2 separate regions of the Homo sapiens genome follow, and region 1 is linked to region 2. The links are contacts of gene promoters, found by promoter capture Hi-C in human tissues and cell types (Jung and others, 2019). All regions are on one chromosome and are shown on one strand. The core of a region is centred on a gene start or on the middle of the fragment in contact, and the rest is flanking DNA. Distances in the headings are between cores, read along the strand shown. Region 1 has its middle 57 kb from the start of EYA4. Region 2 holds the start of EYA4 (EYA transcriptional coactivator and phosphatase 4).

What was found. Contacts are between HindIII fragments. The study calls those that stand out against the background at their distance.
Region 1: a contact is called between a fragment that was not itself captured here and the fragment with the promoter of EYA4 in region 2, in 1 of the 25 tissues and cell types used here (IMR-90 fibroblasts).

The regions. Positions count from the first base shown.
Region 1 is chr6:133,182,014-133,186,371 of GRCh38, forward strand. No RefSeq gene overlaps it. Among named protein-coding and RNA genes, the nearest start is that of EYA4, 57 kb to the right of the region's middle. The HindIII fragment of the contact is 5,248 bases long and covers 1-3,980 here.
Region 2 is chr6:133,239,760-133,243,897 of GRCh38, forward strand. It overlaps EYA4 (EYA transcriptional coactivator and phosphatase 4), which reads left to right and starts at 1,598. Exons shown (of 20, transcript NM_004100.5): 1 at 1,598-1,990. It overlaps LOC124901231 (serine/arginine repetitive matrix protein 1-like), which reads right to left. Exons shown (of 3, transcript XM_047419612.1): 2 at 2,460-2,652; 3 at 561-1,897. The coding sequence ends at 1,027. RefSeq lists enhancers at 1,941-2,835, 2,836-3,728. The HindIII fragment of the contact is 6,618 bases long and covers 1-4,138 here.

The sequences.
Region 1 (4,358 bases), core at 107-2,606, 58 kb before region 2:
CGCCACTGCACTTCAGCAAGAGTGACAAAGTGCAACCCTGTCTCAAAAAATAAAAATAAAAAAGCGGGTGGGGGACAGATACCTGAATTTATATCATCACTGGATTTCTGAAGTAAAACTCTTCCAGAACTGTAGTTAGCCCTTTCTTCTATAATGTCTCTTGTCCTCATTCTTAGATCAAGTTTTATCTGATATTCATACTTATAATTTACTGCCTACTTGGTATTTTACATGCCTTATCTCATTTAATTCTCACAACCACCATGAAAGTTAAATACCACTATCTTCGTGCAACTATCTTAACATTTTGTGCACAGGAAATGAGGTTCAATGAAAGTAAAGCGCTTGCCTGTTGTCTAATGGCTGGTTACCAAAAATGTCTGCTGCTAAAATCTGGGTTTATCCCATGACACTGACAGCTGAGCCTGGGATCAGGTCAGTGGAGATTAATATTTATTTTAAAGATGTCTTCAGCAAGTAATGTGGCTACGAGCTTTACTGTTCTTACTTGCCAATGGCTAAACTTTATGTCACCTGACTGTGCTGAGTGCCTTTCACCAGTGCCCTCCACCCTACAATCCACCACCCCTATCCCCAACCCTACCCTCACACAAGAATGTATACAGCTATAGGGCTAAAGGGAAAAAATACAAAGGAAGCCAATTGATTTTCCGATGCTATAATAATTTGGGTGATTTAACATCCTATGGAGGCTAGATAGCATCCTTCTGGCGTCACCTGCCTTCTTTTCCTTCTTTTGGCTTCATCTCTAACCCTGGCCAGACTCAGCATCCCCTGATCATATATGAGATTGCTCATTCGTATTATATTGTAGGACCTACTAACACCCATTAGTTCTTATTTTTCCAAATCTGAAAGTTCTACTATCAAAGTTACCTTAATATGACTTATTTTTATCTTCTAATTCTAAATTCCAGGAAGAGTTCTGGAAAACCAGAAACTGAAGCTAGCAACTAATTTACCCAATGTCCATGAAATTATTAATTCTGAAAAAGTTTTTTTAAGTGACTAAAAGACAAGATGTGCTTAACCAAGGGTCAAACTTACCGTAAGGGTATTAGATGTCTAGAAGGCAGTGGTATGTTTTATTAGCTCCATTATATATTCATCAAGTATGATGAATTCTATACACTTCTTACATCAATTCTATACACTTCTATACACTTCTTAAGGAAATGTTTGTGTGTCTATGGGAGAAATAAATAAAATGCCTTTTAACCATTATAAATTAATCTTCTTTGAAAGGCAAAATCAAATTTGGGAGCTGATACATAATTATGTGATTTCCACTTTGAGGGTAGCATCTTGCAGTGCAATAATCTGTTTCTCAAACTTAACTATATTGTATACGTTGTATTTGCCTGCATTGAGCTTCTAAGAAGACTGCTTCTTTCTTATGGGTTTTGGGGGTAGGATGAAGAAGGATACAGAAAGGTAACAGACAACTGAAGAATTTAAAACAGAGGGGCAACACCAGAGAAAAGAAAAGCCATGTATACACTTCATTTTGATGAAAAAAAACCCTCATTTCTGTTACTTTTATGTTTTTAATGATAGAAGTATGAAGAATACATAGATGATGGTCAACTTTTTAAGGAAACAGGATTATTCTTTTCTAGTCCTAAATTATTTGAAAACAGAGATCTTACCCTTCTCACCACCAAGCACAAGATTTTCTTCAGTAAATATGGTTTCATTTGATTTCTCTGCACATACATTTCTACAATCAACTACAATAGAGGCTAAGCATATAGGATGAAGGAAGGTAATTTGATATATGTACATGACCTCAGCATTTTGAAAGAATGTCATGTGTAGAGTATGGCATTAGGGTTGTGGGATTCTGGAAAGCACTCCAACGGAAATAGGACTATCAGTAGTGGCACCTGTGAGCAGACTTCAATAGAAGCTGCATAACAAGCAGTGACAAATCAAAAACTTGCATTCAAAGCCCTGTGTTCATTGCATCTGTGTTCTTTGAAAAAAAAGATGCGTAAAAATAGATGCACAAAATAACCCTTGCCCTCTAGGAGTTAACATACTAATTGAACTCATACATACTTCACATACCTTCACACATATCTTCACATACCTTCAAGTATAGGGAGAAAAACCCTGTTCATGTCATAAATATAATCAATAACATCTCATGGTTAATTACAGGAATGGTAGTGTTAATATAAATGCTGACCAATTAATTACCAATAAATACTAACAAATTAGTGACCAATAAATATTTTCACCAGAAAGCACATCAGAGAAATATATTTCATGTTTTTTGTGATTTCATAATAGGAGCAGGTTACCATTTTCAGCAATTACACATATCATATAAATATTTTAATAGCTGAGGGCATGTATGAAAATATAAAGACCCTATCAATATGCATTTGCTAGTTAGTTTACAAAAAATATGTGTCATCAGAAGGCGAAGAATAGTTAATTTACTGACCACGAATGTCCTCTTGTTTTCCAGAACTTCAAATTCTTATATTTTTGAACAACATGTTCTTAAATTACAAAAAGAACATAAAAATGTCGGGCTCAAAACAAAACACACTGCCAGAGCAGAAATAATAGAAAGATAACATATAACTGGAATTCTGATTCCCAACTATTAGTAAAAAGCCATAAACCTATACAGATCCCTTAGCATCTCTGGGTCCATTTGACCAGAGATAGTTGGAGTTAGGTCAACGGGGTCTCTTTAGCCCTTTCCTACTTCTGAATTATACAAACTGTATGATGTCAAACTATAATACAGAGAAAACAGTGCAGAGACAAACCTGCCACTCTAATTTGTCCCATGACAATAAATGTTGTTAGGCCTCAGATTCTACAAAGATAAACTGATGAACTCAATCTTTAAAAAAAAAAAATCCCTTAAACTTCTGAAATTTTATATTGTTTATGTATATTTGGAAGTATATTTCAGGGTACATTATACTTTATTGTGGGTCAATAGGGGGAGCTCTCGCATTGCTTTTTTATGTATACCACAAATAATAGAATTTACTTTACCTTAATTTTAAAGATTGGGCTGGATTATTTCATTACAATTAGGTACTTATAAGCCAGAGGCATCTCATTACTCACTACAGCAATATTAAGGTAGGCCATGTACTCAGCTGTGCCCCTTTAACTTTGAGGGCTTTTTAATCATCCATCAAAGCACACGTTTGTTAGTCTGCTTAAACCATTGCAGAAGTTGTTTTGTTTTCTGTTTGTTTTTTGGACTCCAGCTTCTTCAGATGAAGTTAAGGTCTATGTTTGATTTGTATTCAAACCTATAAGAGTTAAAGGCAGGAGGAAAGGTTTATGGAGATTAAAAATCAAGAAACCATTTCATTAGGTCTGTGCTTCTGTGGGTTGAACTTGCTACACACACAACTTGACGTGTGTACTTCAATTATTATTATTCAATTATATATTTCAGGGGCTTGGCATCTTTGCTCTTTACTGTTTTTTATTTCTTCATGTGTTATATATAATCCACTTCCCTAGCTCACAGAGGATAAAAGCAGTTCATCATAGAATCTTTAGGAAGTTTGCTTTCTCTAATTGAAACAGATGTCCCTTATGTTAATTAGAATATGAAACATGGGTTGTTAACTGTTAGCTTTCAAATGAAACTCATACATTAATGTTCAGGTAAAATGAAAATGAGACAACACAAGTTTAATAGACATTTCTTCAATAAAGTTGTGGTTTATAGTTAGGATGAAATTTTATTGCTTACTGTGATTTATACCTACTTTATCTAAAGGTTCGTGGTGGCCAACAAATAACGGCTCATATTTTTTGGCCATTTTTTCCTTGAAAACACAACTACATTTTAAAATATGGAAAAGTAATTTATAAGGGAAATGAAAAAAGCTTACATGGAAGATTACATAAAATACATCTGTCTTTTCAAGCCATTGAGATATATAAACAACTCGTTAAAACCTTAAAATGCCAAGAGGAAGGACAAAAGATTCTTTTATTGCAATGAACTTTTGAAAAGATGTCTTTTTTTTTTTCTTTACTTTAAAGGAGTAAGCTTTTTACTTCACATCTAAAGATCTTGATTAAATTTTTTGTGTGTATGTGCGTATATTTTAAAATAGTATCACTTGAGGTTCTTTCTTCCGAGGAATCAGTGATAGAGCAAATACATAAGAAAAATAAACATATTTGGCAGCCAAGAAGCTTTTTTTCAATGAAAGTAGAATCTTTTGTTTTTGACTGGAAAAGTTTTTCTTTTTATGTCAAATGAAATTTTAAGATCACCTATGAGTTTGGAACCAAATCCTTTACTGCCAAATCTGATTCCAATCCTTAAAATCTGTTTTTGT
Region 2 (4,138 bases), core at 348-2,847:
AATGCCTACACCCTCCAAAATAAATCTGCAGGAAAGAACACCCAGTAAGTGATGAGAGCAGCAACGACTGCCTTTATCATTTTAAATTTACAACACCACCTTTTCTAGAGCCTCTTAAGCATTGTAGATAATTCCCCACTCATTAAAAAATAAATTGTAACCATAAGTATTCAGGGTTGATACTGCTTTTGAATTAGACAGTGCTCATATCAGTTGCATAAGACCAACCTAAAGTAGAGGATGAAATCTTTTTTCTGAACCTTTTTCAGAACGTAACTTAGTGAATATATTAAAACTAAACTTTCTTTGAATGGGAGTAATTTCTACGGATTAATCTGTAATCTCTTAGACCACACCTAAGGTAATGTAGAGGTTGTTGTATCATAGGCTTTGTGATTAGAGACCACTGGATTTGTCTTTGGAAAAGTCACTCATGATTCTTTGGGCTTTGGTTTCCTCATCTTTTATACCGGCTTAATAATGACCACCGTAGAGTTGTCATGGAAGTTAAATGAACTCATGTACCATAAGTGACCAATACAATGATTGACACTCAGTGATTTATCAATAAATTAAAACATTTATTATCAATATGACAGAGAAGGTGCCGCTAAAATAGACAATAGGTTTTTGGAAGAGGTGATTAAATGGATGCAAAATTTATGGATTGTTTATTCCGTCTACCTTTGCTGTGTCCCCTGGTTGTGGCATACACACGTGTGGGTATAAAATCGTAAATCCTATGTAGTCGCGTAGTGCATGCGCAGAAGGCTTAGACACGAAATGTCATTTCAGCAATGTGCCTAGAGAAGCTCTGACGCCGCCTTGGAAGTAAGTCGTTGCTGCCTGACCTTTGGGCGTCTGGGACGGATGCCTATACCTGCACCCAGCAGCACTGGAAGGGGCCCAGGCCCTTCGCAGCACAGCCTATCCCCAGACCGCTTAGTCCTTCATAACATATATCTCCACGGAAAAGGGTATTTCCTCCCGTCAGAAAAAGCGCCCCAGTCTGGTCTGGGTTGGTTTTTATTTCACGTTGTTGCAAGTAGGCGAAGTCCCTTCTGTCTCCTCCCTTGGGGTAAGTGGAAAGGAGTCCGGCAGGGGGCCCGCAGTGGCCTGCACAGGGGAACTGGGTAGCGAGAGAGTTCCAGGCAATTCCGGGGGCTGCCCCACAGAAGCAGGTGGGGATCGACAGTGGCTCTCCGGCCCAGGGAGGAGAGCGCGGTCGCGGGTCCCTCCCCTCAGCCTGGAGGCTGCAGCCGCTCGAGTCGGCCCGGGTGGGGGCGGGGTGGGGGCGGCGCGGAGGGCACGGAGATTACGGCGGCGCCACCCGGGACATCCAGGGCCCCGAGGCCCTGGGCGGTCCCCACGCGAGATCGCAAACCATGACAATAGGCAGTCACCCGAGGTCAAATAAAAACGGAGTGGGTCCCCCGCGCGCCGCCGCCCCCCGCGTCCCTGGCGGCCTCCCCCGAGGCCCCCGGCGGCCTCACGAGCCCGCAGTAGCCGGTGGCGACGTCGCCCCCGCCCCACCTCCCTGCGCAAGTGCGAGGCTGCCGGCAGCGCGGCGCACGCTCCGGCCGTTCCCGGCTTCCGCGCAAAACTTCCATCCTGTCCACGTGAAGTTGTCGCTGCCTTAGAGAGGGGGAAAGAGCTGCGGGAAAAGCCGGGGAGTGACGACTGCGGCGGCTGGGCGCGCTCTCTCATTTTCTTTTCTTCTCCTTTCCCCCCTGTCGCAGTCCGGAGTTTTGGCTCCTCTCCTTTCCTCCTCCCCCTCGGAGCCGGCTTCTCCCTCCGCCCCGCTTCTCCCCCGCTTGTGTACGCTATTTGTTGTGGGGTGGCCGAAGGGGATGTCCTGTTTTCACCAGAGGCACAGCGCGAAGGGGAAACTTCGACACTGGAAGGAACGAGAATAAATACTTAATTACGGACGCACTGAACCGCGGCTGGGACAGACACTTCGGGAACCCGAGGCGGACCGGGCGACGAGGTGAGTGACCCCTTCTTCCAACCCCCGCCCCAGGGCTCCCGGGGGAGCCTGAGTTGAGAGAACCCCCAAACTTTCCGGGAAAGTGCGCGAGGCTCCGCCGGGGACGCCGAGCGCTGGGTACTGAGGACGCGCAGCTGGACGGTGCGTGGGCGCCTGCGTCCCCGGGGGGCGCTTGGAGGCCGGGTGCCCCACGCCTGAGGGCCCGGGCCGCTCGGACCGCAGCGGTGCTCTCTGCCCTAGAAGACGTCCCCAAGCCCCAAGGGTCCCTTCCGAGCCTGCCTGTCCCTTCCGGGGTCGGCGCGGAGCCTGCGCGTAACGGAGTTCATCCAGCAGTCCAGCGCGCGGCTTCTACCTGCACCCCGCCTCCACCTGGCAGAGGCGCGAGCATCGGGGTCTCCCCCACATCTTTCTTATGACGTGTATTACTTTCTGATGACCCCCTAGATGGTCCAGGCGCGAGGATGCTGACCCAGAGTCCTTCGGAGGGTCACAGGCGCCTGGGCTTTCCCGGTGCCGGGTGCGTGTGTACTTTAAAGGCTCGCGTTCTAATCTCCAGGCACTGATCGGGCTTTTCAACTGCGGCGATCCCACTTTAATAGTTTTTATGTGGCGTGGACTGAATGTCTCCTGCAGTTTGCCAGGGTCGGTGAAATTAGAGGCGCCTTGTCAGAGCAGTCGCGTTCATTGGCTCGAGTAGCGGGTGCCATGGAAGGCTTATAACTTCTCCAAAGGAAGGGACCTGGCTGGGTAGAGCAGGTTTTTCTCTCCTTCCAAGCCTGCTGGGTCTGGGGAGGCAGTGGAACTTGAAATGGCTCGGATTTTTAGCGTGGTGAAGCGAGGTTTGGAAGTAGACGTGTGTGTGCTTGTTTTATTCTGCGCCGCACAGCAACCCGAACTTTCGTTTGGTAGCACTTGAAAGAGTTTTCTCCCTTTGTTTGCGAGATTCTGAACAGCTCGGAGCGATTAGGGAATTTGCGGACCGAGTCCGGTGGCAGAGCTGGGGCGAAAGCAGAGAGCGCAATTTAATTTTTGTCATCTCTTCCCTGCTTGGGAGGATAGTGTTTCCCTTCACCACCACCCCTCTTTCTCCTTCCTATGAAGACAACGGATTTGCGCCTGGGGTGAGAGTGTGTGCGGGAGAGTGGTGTGGAGACTGTCCTCTCTCACCGCGTCTCCTGCGCCTCTCCCCGCCATCCCGAGCGGGCCTAGAGAGTCATTCATGAATCTTAACCTGAGGGCAGGGGAGGAAGGTGCAGGTCCCTCTGCCCTTTCTGCCAAGGTGCAGAATAGCGCCCGGGCGTGTGTTTTGGTTCCAGAGCAGTTCCACGTGGAGCAACTTCGTGTGTGTGTGTGTGTGTGTGTGTGTGTGTTGTGTACTTGATCTGTGAGGAGGTAACAGGACTCTGGTGTTCAAACCCAGTGGGCCGTTGGCCATTAGTTTGCTTTCCTGGCTGTCATTACAGACACTTCCAAAATCTGATACCTAAGAGAACCAACAGGTTAGGTTTCACATTAAGGGCTCATACTTAACAGTTTTCTTTCTCCCTTACCCCTTTTGGCTTGGCACCCTGGGATCAACGTAATTGTTGGAGCGAAATACACCTCCTGGAATATGGCATTTTGTTCCTCTTCTCATCTGTGGCCACTTTGTGAACCCTCGGGTGTTTGTCAGTTTCAGTGCGGGCTCCTGCGGGATTTAGGTGGGAGTCTTAGGAGCGTTTAACAACCGCGGGCTCCCCATCAGCAGCTTCTGAAGTTTCACTTACACGTAGGTGACTGACAGGATTGAAAGTTGACGATGGTTTTTTTGTTTGTTGCGTTGTTTTTGTTTTTAAAACCTTAGGGAAGGGATTGTACTTGAATTCCTTTCCCGGGTACGGTTTGGTTTTAAGCAGAATCAGTGCCTTTTTTTTTTTTTTTGTCTTTTAAAATATTATTGGCAAGCTTAAACCTGAAGAACCAAAAACTAGAGGGGGTGGGGAGAGAATCCCCCCAAAAAATATTTGATACGTGATACGGAGCGTTTTAGGAGACTGCATTCAAAGACATTTGTGTATTTTTAAAAATAACATTATCCCAAGAAACAAAAAGCAGTAGTAACAAGAGACAGATTGTTTTGTGTGGAGCAAGACTGCCAGAATCTGATTT